Linked DNA regions of Homo sapiens: region 1 is linked to region 2. Evidence: promoter capture Hi-C in 16 types of primary human blood cells and fetal thymus (Javierre and others, 2016). All regions are on one chromosome and are shown on one strand. The core of a region is centred on a gene start or on the middle of the fragment in contact, and the rest is flanking DNA. Distances in the headings are between cores, read along the strand shown. Region 1 has its middle 51 kb from the start of CA13. Region 2 holds the start of E2F5 (E2F transcription factor 5).

The links. The method cuts DNA at HindIII sites, captures the fragments that hold promoters and counts their contacts. A CHiCAGO score of 5 or more calls a contact.
Region 1: a fragment that was not itself captured here is called in contact with the fragment with the promoter of E2F5 in region 2 in 3 of 17 cell types (naive B cells, total B cells and fetal thymus); the score reaches 8.0 in naive B cells.

What each region holds. Positions count from the first base shown.
Region 1 is chr8:85,293,231-85,300,166 of GRCh38, reverse strand. No RefSeq gene overlaps it. Among named protein-coding and RNA genes, the nearest start is that of CA13, 51 kb to the right of the region's middle. The HindIII fragment of the contact is 510 bases long and covers 4,644-5,153 here.
Region 2 is chr8:85,173,215-85,180,751 of GRCh38, reverse strand. It overlaps E2F5 (E2F transcription factor 5), which reads right to left and starts at 3,598. Exons shown (of 8, transcript NM_001951.4): 1 at 3,098-3,598. The coding sequence starts at 3,331. E2F5-DT (E2F5 divergent transcript) reads left to right here and starts at 3,711. Exons shown (of 3, transcript NR_134311.1): 1 at 3,711-3,921. RefSeq lists silencers at 2,738-3,127, 3,138-3,667 and an enhancer at 3,768-3,937. The HindIII fragment of the contact is 15,711 bases long and covers 1-7,537 here.

The DNA.
Region 1 (6,936 bases), core at 3,649-6,148, 120 kb before region 2:
GATGATGGCTTCCAGCTCCATCCATGTCCCTCCAAAGGACAGGATCTCATTCCTTTTTATGGCTGCATAGTATTCCATAATGTATATGTACCATATATTTTCTTTATTCAGTCTATCACTGATGGGAATTTGGGTGATTCCATGTTTTTGCTATTGTGAATAGTGCTGCAATGAACATACGTGTGCATGTATCTTTGTAACAGAATGATTTATATTCCTTTGGCTATATACCTAGTAATGGGATTGCTGGGCCAAATGGTATTTCTGGTTCTAGGTCTTTGAGGAATTACCATACCGTCTTCCGCAATGGTTGAACTAATTTACATTCCCACCAACAGTGTAAAAGCTTTCTTGTTTCTCTGCAACCTCACCAGCATCTGTTGTTTCTTGGCTTTTTAATAATCGCCATTCTGACTGGCGTGAGATGGTATCTCATTGTAGTTTTGATTTGCATTTATCTAATGATCAGTGATGTTGAGCTTTTCCTCATATATGTGCTGGCTGCATAAATGTCTTCTTTTGAGAAGTATCTGTTCATGTCCTTTGTCCACTTTTTAATGGGGTTGTTTTTTCCTTGTAAATTTGTTTAAGTTCCTTGTAGATTCTGGATATTCGACCTTTGTAAGACGGATAGATTGCAAAAATTTTCTCCCATTCTGTAGGTTGTCTGTTCACTCTAATGATAGTTTCTTTTGCTGTGCAGAAGCGCTTTAGTTCAGTTAGATCCCATTTGTCAATTTTTGCTTTTGTTGCAACTGCTAGAACTTTTTTTATCCTCTGTTTGAAAAGTACTAAACATCAGCAGTGACACCTAGTGTCTGGACTGAAAAAAGGAATCTGGAACTACTAGATTGTTCTTACTTATATCTCCCCTGTTGATAGATTGTGCACATTCAAACAATAGCAGCTAACATTTATTGAGTGTGCCAGGCACTGCGATAATTCCTTTAGGTGCCTCATCCTGTATAAGATGCACAACAAATTTATTATATGGATACTATTATTATTCTCATTTTTATGAATTAGATAAGCAAGACCTGGAGATGTTAAGAAACTTGCCCTCCAGCCTGGGCAACATGGCAAAACCCTGTCACTTCAAAAAACTATTAGTCTAGTGTAGTGGTGGGCACCTGTGGTCCCAGCTGCTCAGGAGACTGATGTGGGAGGATCACTTGAGCCCAGCAGGTCAAGGCTGCAATGAGCCAAGATTGTGCCACTGCACTCCAGCCTGGGTGACAGAGCAAGATCTTACAAAAAAAAGGAAAGGAAAAGAAGAAACTTTTCCATTTTAACAAGCCATCGCACTTTATCCTCTGTCCTTCAGGTGAGAATTAGTACTTCTCTCATGGCCACTGCCCCTAATCTAAATCTAAAAATATGCGGAAAGTCATGCTCATATTGGGCCATAGGTGATTCAGTTGTGGGTGGGTAGGGCCAGCAATCCCAAAGGTGTATCCAAATGTTTTCTTATATGAAAAAGCAATAATCTGAGTTCTCTAGAAACTCAAGTCTAGAAAATTCTAATCACATTCCCATAACTTTTCACGAACAAAATAAGTGTTTTACTTTCTCTAACGCTAGGAATATCCTCTGAAGAATGGAGTCTTGTGTATGGATGACTGGGTAGATAAGGTACCACAGGGGAAAAAGCTAGACTGGGCAAGGTTGTAGATTGCTTTTAATGAAATCTTTGAGGCCTGAAGGCAGGGATGTGGTCTTGACCCAGCAGAAAACCTGGAGTTGAATAAGGAATGAAGAAAGAACACCAGCTAACCTTCAAAGAATCCCAACCTCACTGGGAATCTCGACAAGAATGGAGCGTGCCAAAGAGAAGGTCAGGGAGGTAAGATTAACACAGGGGCCCTTTGTAAGAAAGCTTTTGATTAAAAAGCTTTTAATTAATGGGTCTTTGAAATCCACTGGCTGATCAAAACTGCTGAAGACCCTTGATCTAGTCCATCCCACCTGCACAGAAGAACAGTGTTCACAGAAGAGACTCTATGCCACTTGTGGAAAACTTATAACAAGATTACACATTTATAGAAGTATAGGTGAAGAGTAATCCAACGTTCAAGCAGCCTTGGCATTAGGAAATTTTAATCCAAACCTGCTTTCACCCGAGGCCACTTCTCCTTATTTTATGCCTAGCAGAGGTAGACTGCAGAGGGCTGAGCACAACTAATGTTTACTGTTAATGAATACTTCTCTGCCTTCTCTTCCCTAGCAGCAGCAAAAGCAAGGCCCAGTGGATTCAGTTTGGGACCCAGAGGATTAACAATGCCCAGAGCAGGTGGCAGAGCTGCTCCCACAGGGAATGGTGGCCAAGTGATGCACCTGGAAGGTAGGAGGAGGAGAGAGGGAGGTGAGGACAAAAGAGAAGAAATTATGAGACACCAAGTGCAAACTGACTTGACTCACTCATTACCACAAATGAGACACTCTTTGGGAATATTTAGAAATAGTTAGGAGAGGGAGACTTCGGAAGAGGCTGAAATCTTGCACTAGCAGGTGGGAGTAAAGTAATGGTCATGGTGCCTCATTGCCTCATCCGCTACCAGGTAGTGCAAATCAGCCTTTCTGATGCGACACCACCACCTGGTGGTTAAGATGAGGAACAAGTCACTGCTGTCTCTGCACCTTCCTTTTTCCTTTTTTAGGGAGATGAATGCTCACATAATTGTTTTCTCTTAAGGCTTCTTTAATTCCTGTTAAATACTCCTTCTCCTTTACTGCATATTCTCCCTTTCAAGTACTGACCAGTTACTGCAAGAACATTTTATTTTATTCTCTCCATCCTCTCCCTCACTCCCTTTCTCTGTTTCTCACCCTAGCGTGTTGTTCTGGAAGACAAGGTGCCCGTAATGAAGAGACTACCTGAGTACTGGGAAATATGGCATCTATCATATTGTGAGTAACGATCTTCACTATGAATCAGCTACTTGAAAGTAAGATTTATATTGTTGAACATTGCATGAAAACTTTTAGGAGGATTTCAAAGTACTACTGAAAACAGTTTGTGAATATATGCATGTGCATAGGTGCATTAACGTCTTAAAAACTGCAATATCTTTTAAGCATTTTTTAAGGAACACCCATGAACTCAATATAACATAAAAGCTGACATATAATTGTAGATTTACACCCAGTCTTCTATAGATGCACACAACTTATCCAGAAAATTAAGGATTATATTGTCAATGTATACGTTAGTTCAAATGTGCATGAAAAAATATGCATTGGTTAATTAAATAAACACCTATTGATGTCTATCATGAGTCAAACATGGTTTAGGTGCTAAAAACTCTTGATTAACAAAATGAAAAACACTTCCTTAAGGAGGTTACATTCTTGTAAGACAGACTGATGTTTAAAAATAAATAATATTATGTTAATGATGTTGTAAATGACATGAAAAATAATAAATCAGAGTAAGGGGAAAGAAAGTAACAGGGCTGCTACTTAGAAAGTGTGGTCAGGGAAGGCCTCTTTGAAGAGGTGACATTTGAATGAATGAGGAAGTGATTCATATGAGTATCTGAGGAAGAGCATTGCAGGCAAAGAGAATATCCACTGTAAAGACTTGAAAAGGCCTGGCAGAGGAAAAACGAGGGTGTCAAGACTGAAGAGTGGTGGATGGGACAGCAGGAGAGAAGGGGGGCAGGAGCCACAAGAGCACAGATCACAGAGTACTCTATATGCCATCATAGGCACAGCAGATTTTGTTCTGAGTCATAGGAAGTCACTGCAGTGTGGAGCTCAAATGGAGTGAAGCACTCTGACCTGCTTTTTCAAAGAATCACCCTGGCCGCTGTGTGAACAATGTAGGGGGTAAAGAGTGGAGCAGAGAGACCAGCTGAGAGCCATATTTTAAGACTAGCATCCACAGGACTTGCTAGCAGATTCAATCTGGGTGTGAGCGAAAGAGAGTACAGAGATGACTGTGAGTTTTGTGTAGCTAGTGGTGCCATTTACTGAGATGGAGCATCCTTGGGAAGGGAAGGTTGCAGGCACAACAAGGGGATGGGAAGCAGAATTGAGGGATCTGGACATGCTAATGTTGACATGTCTGTCAGACATTCCATGGAGCAGTCTTATAGGCAGTTGGGTATATGAGTTCCAAGTTCAGGGGAAAGATTGGGAATGGATATATATATCTGATATATGCTGATATACACACACACATATATATAGTATATATATTTGAATATATATACATATATATGATATATAGTATATACATCTGAATATATATATACACATATATATGATATATATATACACACACACACACGTGTATATATATATGTATACATCAACCATGTTTTTAAATGTCATTTAAAGTCATGGGGCTAGAAAAAAAAATTACCCAGGAAGTAAGTGAAGCAGAGAGAGAACAGACCAGAAAGGGACAGCTGGTGAGGAGGGAGGAAACCAGGACATTCACCTCAGAAGGCAAGTGAAGAGACAGAAACACGACATATACCCATGTCTGGTAAATAATTAAATTCAGGATTAGGCATTCACTATTTCTCTGATTCCCTGTCAAGCACTGAAGAGGAATGGAAGTGGGCAAGGGTGAAAAAGCATAGATAAATTTTGGTTTTGATTTACAACTTAGTTACAAAGTGTTTCATATGTAAGCTTACCTACATGAAATTATTACAGAACAAGAGTATGTAATTAAGTTTCACCAAGTCATTTGAAAGATGCTACCTGACCTAATGATAAGCTGACACATTCACAAGAAATATGAACTGTCTACAGAGACTCATTCAAGCATACTGAAATAGATATAGCTGAGATCTTTATCTTAAAAAAAGGTTAAAATGGAATATGTCCTCCTAGCCTTTTCAATCTTACTGATTTTTAACAAGCATACACTTTCATTATATATGACAAAAAGTCTTTGCTTGAATACAAATGAAGTGTGTTCTCATAACAAATAAAACAAACAGAGCTCTCTTATTCTTCTTGGTTGAGAAGCCAGATTTGGATTTGCTTTTTCTTAATAAAGTCATTTACATAAAAGAATATTTGGAGCTGAAATTTCAAATTCTTGTGATGAGTGAGCAAGCTCAGCTGAAAGCATGCTTCTGGATGGCTGCAAAGCACAACAGAACCTTTCATTATTTGGGGAAGGAGGATTTCAAGCTTGTATTTATCCAGGCTCCAATTTCTAAGAGGAAAAACACAGAAAGTATATCCACTATACAGGAAATAAGAGAAGGAAATAGATGAGGGTGTAGGAATTGTTGTTTTATTTGATCTCAGGATGTCTGAGTGACAGATGGAATAACCCAGCACAGCATAGTCTTTATGCCAAGAGAAAGAGGCACTGCTAGATACACAACATTTGGGTGGCCCCTTGGGACCAGGGCTGCCGGAGTTTCATGGATCCCAAAGATTTTTATTATACAATAACCCTGAAAATTGTCTTTAAAAGTCATTATACCTGTAAAACCTCTACTTAGTCACAAAACTATGATTAGTCTTACTTATATTTATCTCAGTCAGTGCCTTCTGTCTGCATCCCTGTATTTCTCTTCTTGCTTTTCATCCTAGCTGGTTGAGAAAACACTGCATCTACCTGTATCAAATGCTAACACAGGTTTCCTAGAAGAAAATTCCTATGAAAATAAAACCAGATGAAATAAACAGATTATATTGAGTTTTGGGGGCTATGCTGTCTCATCATCTTTAATTACAACACTTTGTTTTCTTTTTATATATTCAATAAGTAGTTTTAAACAATATCATTGTGGCTGGGTGCGGTGGCTCATGCCTGTAATCCCAGCACTTTGGGAGGCCGAGGTGGGCAGATCACGAGGTCAGGAGATCGAGACCTTCCTGGCTAACATGGTGAAACCCTGTCTCTACTAAAAATACAAAAAAATTAGCCAGGCGTGGTGGTGGGCACCTATAGTCCCAGCTACTCAGGAGGCTGAGGCAGGAGAATGGCCTGAACCTGGGAGGCAGAGCTTGCAGTGAGCCGAGATCGCGCCACTGCACTCCAGCCTGGGTGACAGAACGAGACTCCGTCACACACACATACAAAAAAACAAATATCATTGTGTAGTCCTTGGGGGCTATACTGAGACTTTCCCACAAGAACTTGAGAATAAGTAAAATGAGCTTAAAATTTTATATTACATGTTTGCTCTCTCAGAGTTGGACTTTGCAATATATACCTTATGAATAAGAACCAAAATATAAACACACTCCTTAAAGGGCAGAGTGGCTTCAGATTTGAAAATCTTACTTGAGTGCATGTGTTAACATGTCCAATATAAGGAAGTGCCAACTAGGGAAATGGTGGATTTATCACAGAATAGAAAACTGAAAACCACAGAAGCACATATTGCTAGTTTATCCAAATATATTCCAGTGTTTAAGAAAACATTAGTCAACAGGCCAAGTATTTTAGTCCTTTTGGCAAAACTATACATATTTTGAAGAAAATGCTGGGAAGTACAGCCAACAAAATTCTATTATTATGTCCCACTTTGAAAATGATTCTTTAGACGAGTCGGATGTTTCAGACAATTTCTTTCTCCTATTTGTCGTATTTTTCTGAGATCCATACTCACCAAGTAAACATCTTATATAATTTGGTTTCCTGTATAGAGTGGACTTCCTAGTGGTGCTCAAGAAATATTCTTTGAATGAACGTTCATGTTTGATTAGTGTTCCAGCTAATGTAAGACTCATATCACTCATTATAAATTAATAACTTGACTTTTTAACTTATATTTCAGACTTGTGAACTCACTTATGGTAAGTCTGCCCATGAGAAAGGGACATCGTGCTGACAAATTATGTTTCTGATTTTGCAGAGCTGAGAGTTTGACTCTATACCTAGAGGACTTCATCAAACTCCTGAGACTCCCTAGGGAAATAGCCATCTGGTCTACTCCTGGCCACATATGCCTATTGCAG
Region 2 (7,537 bases), core at 2,349-4,848:
AAAAAAATTAGCCGGGCGTGATGGCGGGTGCCTGTAGTCCCAGCTACTCGGGAGGCTGAGGCAGGAGAATGGCATGAACCCGGGAGGCGGAGCTTGCAGTGAGCCGAGATTGCGCCACTGCACTCCCGCCTGGGCCACAGAGCGAGACTCTGTCTCAAAAAAAAAAAAAAAAAAAAACAAGACCAACCAAAAAACCATATATATATATATATATATATATATATATATATATATATATATGTATAGTTTCTTTAACTGCGTTTAAAAGTCAAGTGTATAACTTAAAAGTTTCAAAAAAATTATGCTGAAATATGCCCCCACCAAAGTAAGAATACAAGAGAAAATGTGTCTTTATAATTTCAAATTAGAGGAAATTTATAATTGTCAGTGTGAGTCCATCTTTAATATGTATTATCAAACATGTCTTAATGGGCTGGGTATGGTGGCTCACGCCTGTAATCCCAGCACTCTGGGAGGCTGAGGCAAGCAGATCATTTGAGGTTGGGAGTTCGAGACCAGCCTGGCCAACATGGTGAAACCCCTTCTCTACTAAACATACAAAAATGAGTCGGGCATGGTGGCGGGCACCTGTAATCCCAGCTACTTGGGAGGCTGAGGCAGGAGAATCGCTTGAACCCGGGAGGTGGAGGTTGCAGTGAGCAGAGATCTGCCACTGCACTCCAGCCTGGGTGACAGAGCAAGACTCAGTCTCAAAAAAAAAAGGCTTTAACGATCTTTTACTATGGTGTATAATAAGAAATATCATTGGAAAGATTTCAATGTAAGATTTTTGGCCGGGCGCGGTGGCTCACGCCTGTAATCCCAGCACTTTGGGAGGCCGAGGCGCGTGGATCACAAGGTCAGGAGATCGAGACCATCCTAGCTAACACAGTGAAACCCTGTCTCTACTAAAATTACAAAAAAATTAGCTGGGTGCGCTGGCGGGCGCCTGTAGTCCGAGCTACTCGGGAGGCTGACACAGGAGAATGGCGTGAACCCGGGAGGCGGAGCTTGCAGTGAGCCCAGATCGCGCCACTGCACTCCAGCCTGGGCGACAGAGCAAGACTCCGTCTCAAAAAAGAAAAAAAAAAGATTTTTACATATATAAGTATATATAAATAAATGAAAAATATACGTAAAATACATAAAACATATGTTTTTCATACATATATATGAAAACTAAAGACATTCAAACTCTTTTCTAGGAGTATGAAGTCATTAATATAATGAGACAGTGTTATTGTAGAAACCTTTGAATTTTTAGGAGAGTTCCAGAATGAATAAAGCAATTATTGTCATGAAATACCAAACTTTACATCCTACTCACTGCCTCTGTGACTTCTGTAGGGCAATTATATAGCCACAGATGAAACAGGAGGAAGCTAAAGAATTTCAAGTCAAGAAAGGGCAAAGTTCCACCATATCCTGAGGCAAGCTGAGGGAGAAGCCCTCAAAGTCCAGCCGTCAGAGTTCAGTTTTACCTGGAAAACCCCAAACTTCCCTGATTTTCTTACACCAAAGTCACAGGCTACAGCTGAATTTCTAGATTTTGAACAGCAGTTTGCCACCTGTGCTTTGTAACATTCCTGGCTTTCTCTGATAACTTCATGACTTCCTGTGAAATTCTTTAAACAGAATCCATTTTAATTCACTACAATTTAAATACTACACATGCCATAAATCACTTTCAGGGAGAGAAAGGAAGAAGGGGCTGTGGTGGAAAAAAGAGAACAAGGAATTTCCAGAGGTGGGAAAAAAATTCCAGGAATAACATATCAAAAAGAAAATAGTAGAAATTACTTACCAAAATGCAAAATATGTGCAGCATGCCTCAGTTGTATGAAGTTGAACAATTTAGGTAATTCAGTTCAACAATCACTGATTGAACACCAACTACATCCAGGGAAAGGAGAGGGCACTGAAAAGATCTACTTCCCCTTGGGCTACACTGGAGGAGGGCCTCTAGCAGAAGAGTTGGCCCCTGCAAGTCTTGGTCCTTACATTCAGGGAGCTGCCACTGCTTTATGCAGAGCCTTGAGGATGCAGTGACACTCTCAAGCCAGGTAAGGTGGTCCAGGCACTCCCCTGGGAGCTGGGGCCAATCCTCCAAGTAAGGCCACATTTAGGGAGTCAAAGGGGATTTGCAGTGATTATTGGGCAGTTAGTGTTTTTTGTTTGTTTGTTTCTAAAACTTTAGTTCTTAAACTTCGCGCGGAGTGACCACATTCTCATTATCCTGAGCGCTGTTGAATTCTTCCAAATCCTTCCTAGATCGGTTAAGTCATTCTGTATGACAGAACAGCTTTTGATGCCTGCTCCTGTTTGAAAAATCTGAACGCTGTAAAGGACGACGCAGGGAGAGAGTTTACTGAGCACTTCCACCTCTTTGGGTGAAAGTTGTAAAATATCCCCTTTTCGTGTGACAGCAGATCTCACTTTTGGAAACCCATGACACATGCCAAATGAAGTCACAAATCAAATACCCCTCCTAACTATCAGGGTGATGAAAGAAGTGCACAAGGAAGATTTAATACTATTTTATCGGGGAGGGGCGTGGAAAGAAGTACTCTTTTTTTTTTTTCTTTCATCTGGTAGAGATGGCAGACTGGGTTTTGTTTTTCCTCCTTTTTATTTAAACTACAGGAACATGGTTCCAACTGGAATCGCCTATTAAAACCATCCATTCTTAACAGCAAAATCGATATCCACGGTGTCTCCGGGCAAAGCGCCCGTTACCCCGTGAGCCTCTGCCACAGGTGGACGCAGAGCAACAGACACTCGGTTACCCTCAGGTCCCTGCGCCCGGAGACAGAAGCCACGCGGGCGCGCTCGAGGTCCTGGGCTCTTTGTCGAGAGCCCAGCGTGGCGCCGGGCCCCATTGGTTACGCGTCCGCTCGGTGCCATCCTGGTCCCTCGTCCCTCCCCCATCCCGGCGTCCACGACCCGGGCGCAGGCCACATGGTCCTCGGATTGCCCGGTCCCGGGTCCCCGCAAGGCGCGTCTACACCACGCCGCTAGACCCACGCGGCGAGGGGCTGGGCTTCCCCGGGGGCCACGGGTTCCGAAGTCCGCCCCCGTCCCCGCCTCCGGAGCTCACCGCTTTGAGATCCAGAACGCCGTCCTTGGCCTCCTGCAGCAGCGACACGAACTTGGTAGTGAGCAGCCCCAGGCTCTTCTCGTGCCTGCTGCTGCCGCCCCCGGCGCCCCCGAGCTGCGGCGGCGGGGGCGGCTGCGGGGCTTGCGCCTGCGGAGGCTGCGGCGGCGGCCGCTGGCCCTGCCCCTGCCCTGCCGGCGCCTGCTGGCCCGAGCTCGCGGGCTCTGCCGCCGCCATCGCGTCCCGGCCCCGCGGTGGTCGGGCCCCCGCGCACTTTCGCTCGCCGGCCCCGCCCGCGGCCACCTGCCGGGTCGGCTCCGCTGCGGCCGCTTCCCCGCCCGCCGAGAGCGGTAGTGCGGGTCGCTGGCTGCTGCAAACAACAGGTGTGCGGCGCCCACGGGAGTCTGGGCCGCTTGTCACGCCGGGCCTCCGCCCCCTCCCCAAGCCCGGGGAAGCGTGAATGAGGCCCACGACCGAGGGGGGAGGGGTGGAAACGAGGAGAAGGGGCTGCGAGGGGTGGGGACCTGAGTTTAAATGGCAGGAAGTGACGCCGCCGCCCGCCGTTGCCTAGAAACACATTTTTCTGTAGGAAGGAGGAGCGCACGAGGAGGAGGAGGGGTGTTGGCGCGTGTGTTTCACACTCGCCTCCCTGGCGTTCGCGAGCTGACCCGAGGAGTGGTAATCTCACGCGGCAAAGCAGGGAGGAAGAAAAAAAGGAGACAAAAGAAAAAAAGACTTTTATCTGGGCAGAAAGTCACAATGCCTAGCGGCCAAACGTTTGTGAGCGGTGAAGTTGGTTGACTGCTCAAGTTTGCAGAGCTTCAGCAGTAGGTTACTTTCTCTGGACGGTTTCTGCTATCTTTGCTCTTTTCGAGCTCTAGCATCGTTTGCAAATATTTCAATGACTTGGACCAAGTGCAGAGTTTTACTTCATAGCTCACCCTTTTAGATTCGGAGTACAGAAAAAGGCATCGTGGAGTTTTAGGGTTGGTTTTCATCAATCCTTTCCAAGGCCTTTACTTTCTACATGGAGAAACGTGTAGAGGGAGAGGTTGTGAATTGCCAAAGACATGCCGTTAGATTCCAGATCTCCTGTGTTTGACCAAAGTTCTTGACCAAAGTTCTTAATATCTTATTTGAACCAAATTATATTGTATTTGGAATATTGGGTAGCCACAGGCCCTTGGACTTCAGTGATATTCCAAACTATTGATGGCAAATGACATTATGGAGATCTGAGTAAAAGAAAGTCGTTGGGATTTTTTCCTCATTATATTACAAACTCTTGAGAATCCAGACTAAATTTTAAATGACTTGTTGTCACACTCAACACTTTGAATATAGTAGACAATAAAGATTAGGCGAATGAGACCAGGCGCGGTGGCTTACGCCTGTAATCCCAGCACTTTGGGAGGCCGAGGCAGGCAGATCATTTGAGATCAGGAGTTCGAGACCAACCTGGCCAACATGGTAAAACCCCGTCTCTACTAAAAATACAAAAATTAGCGGGGGGTGGTGGTGCCCGCCTATAGTCCCAGCTACTCCAGAGCCTGAGGCAGGAGAATCTCTTAAACCCAGGAGGCAGACGTTGCAGTGTTGCAGTGAGCCGAGATGCCACCACTGCACTTCAGCCTGGGCAACAAAGCAAGACTCTGTCTCAAATAAAAAAAAAAAAGATTAGGTGAATGAAAATTCTATATGGCAATAATTAATCAAGAAGATTTCATGCAAGAAAGATTTTGCTTAATTTTAAGTAACAATAAACTAACAAAAAAGGTCACTGAAGCGACATCAAATACAACAGCATTAACTAGTAAAGCTGAACACACCATTTATAACACATCATAGGCACAGAACTTTATAACCTTTATTAATAACCTATTCATAATAACCTTTATTTTAATCAAATCTATAAACAAAACTTAAAATTGAAAATCTGAAGTAAAACATGAAAAATTCAGTTGATACAACCATTTTCCAACAACCTATCCAAGAAAGGCTATCTTTATTTGATTTGACATGGGACACATCATTGACAAGTTTTGCAAATTTATTTTATTGATTATTGTCAAGTAGTATTTCTTAGAACATACTGAATTAGGAAGATTCTAATTTGTTTTTAACTTTATAACAGAACATTGTGTTATATGTGCAGGGACAGGAATTAATAACACTAAATGTATTAATATTTTTAAAACTTACACTTCTATGGTGTCTTAGTTTGAGAAAGTACCATAAACTGGGTGACTTAACGGAAATTAATTTTCTCACAGTTCTGGAGGCTGCAAGTCGACGATCAGGAGGCTGCCATGGCCAGGTTGTGGTGAGGGCCCCCTTCTTGGCTGTCAGATTGTGGCTTTCTCATTGTGTCAAATGGCAGAGAGAGAGAGAAAGACAGACAGAACAGAGACAGCATAAGCTCTCAGATTTCTTATAAGGGCACTAATTCCATCTGAGGGCTCAATCTTCACGATTTCATCTAAACCTAATCACCTCCCAAAGGCCCGAGGGTTAGGGTTTCAACATACAAATGTTGGGGAGATATAGTTCATCCCATGGCATGTAATCATATTTTATAGTAGCTATCTTGGTAATTTTTAAAAACAATATTTTTTAAATTTCAGCTTTAAAAGGTTTTCTACAAAGCAATTATATTATTAGTGATTCTAAAAGGTCAATTAACAATTTATTTTGCACTGTTATTTGTGTTTTTCACAATGAATTTTTTATCTCTTTAGATTGCCTGGGGTTCAATTAGAAATTATTCACAAATTAGCAGCCATTTTAATTAGCATTCAAAATCTTATGTCTGTCTGAAGAGCTAAAAATCGCTTATACCAGTGGTTCCCAGACCTTAGGGGAAAAAATCATCTACAATGTTTGTTAAAAATCTAGATGCTTGGATCCAAACCCCAGGGATCAAATTAGCATTTGATATGAGAATATGACCTGTGAGTCCACATTTTTCACAGTTCAGATAATTCTCATGCACAACATAGTCATTCTTTGAGAAACGCCAAATAGCACAATGAAAAATAATGCAATATATATTTTTCCTAAAAATCGACAAAAAACAGAGATTGATAATGCAAAAGTTTTTTAAATATTGCTAAATGTTTTTAAAAATTCTATTTTTTAAAAAAACTAAGAAACATGATTTTTTAAAAGTTATGATACAAATAATGTTTAAGAACATGATATTGATCAGTTTTGTAATTTAACTTTTATTTCTGTATCCTTTTGACTATAAAGGAGATAACTCTCAAAAGGCTGTAAATTCCTACATCAGTTCTTTGTGCCATTTCTGACAAAGGCTTAAAAATTATTTCCAACAAAAGTCAAAGCTGGCTGAGTGCTCACGCCTGGCTGGGCACTCACGCCTGTCTGTAATCCTAGCACTTTGGAGGGCTGAGAGAAGAGGATTGCCTGAACCCAGGAACTCAGGACCAGCCTGGACAACATGGCAAAACCCCATTTCTACAAAAACTACAAAAATTAGCTGGGCGTGGTAGTGCACACTTGTAGTCCCAGCCACTAGAGAGGCTGAGGTGAGAGGATCACTTGAGCCCAAGAGGTCAAGGATGTAGTGACCTGTCATCCTGCCACTGCAATCCAGCCTGAGTGACAGAGTGAGAATCTATCCTAAAAAAAAAAAAAAAAAAAAAAATCCAATTGAACTAAACTATATTTCATTGACCTATAAGGGTAATAAATGCATAACAGTAATCCTTCATTAAATTCAATTTACGCTGATTAGTTGGGTAGATACTATTTTCAATTATAATATTGTTTATATGCCCCTGGTTAAATTTTCTTTTTTTAAATGCATTTTGGAAGTGCAGCTCCTTAGCTAGTTCAGGACTAAGAAGGAAGGCTTAAATATTTCAAAACAGAATGATTTCTTAGTCCACAGCTCATTAAACTTATAGTATCTAACATTTGTGGAATTTCACAAATGCCATTTTTATAGAGATTCAGGATCAATTTAAAATATGCACAGTTTTGTCATAATCTGGTAGTTAAATATTTAAGAAAATCCAACAAAATTTTACTTGTTTATTGATGATGACAGACTGACTTTTTTTTTTTTTTTTGAGATGGAGTTTTGCTCTTGTTGCCCAGGCTGGAGTGCAATGGCATGATCTCAGCTCACTGCAACCTCTGCTTCCCAGGTTCAAGAGATTCTCCTGCCTTAGCCTCCCTAGTAGCTGGGATTACAGGCATGCACCACCATGCCCAGCTAATTTTGTTTTTTTAGTAGAGGCAGGGTTTCGCCATTTTGGTCAGGCTGGTTTTGAACTCCTGACCTCAGGTGATCCACCCACCCTGGTCTGCCAAAGTGTTGGGATTACAGGCATGAGCCACCATACCTGGCCATGCAGACTGATTTTTTAAGTGCATTAGCCCATTCGGTGATCATGAATGGTTGGAACTTTAGACTCT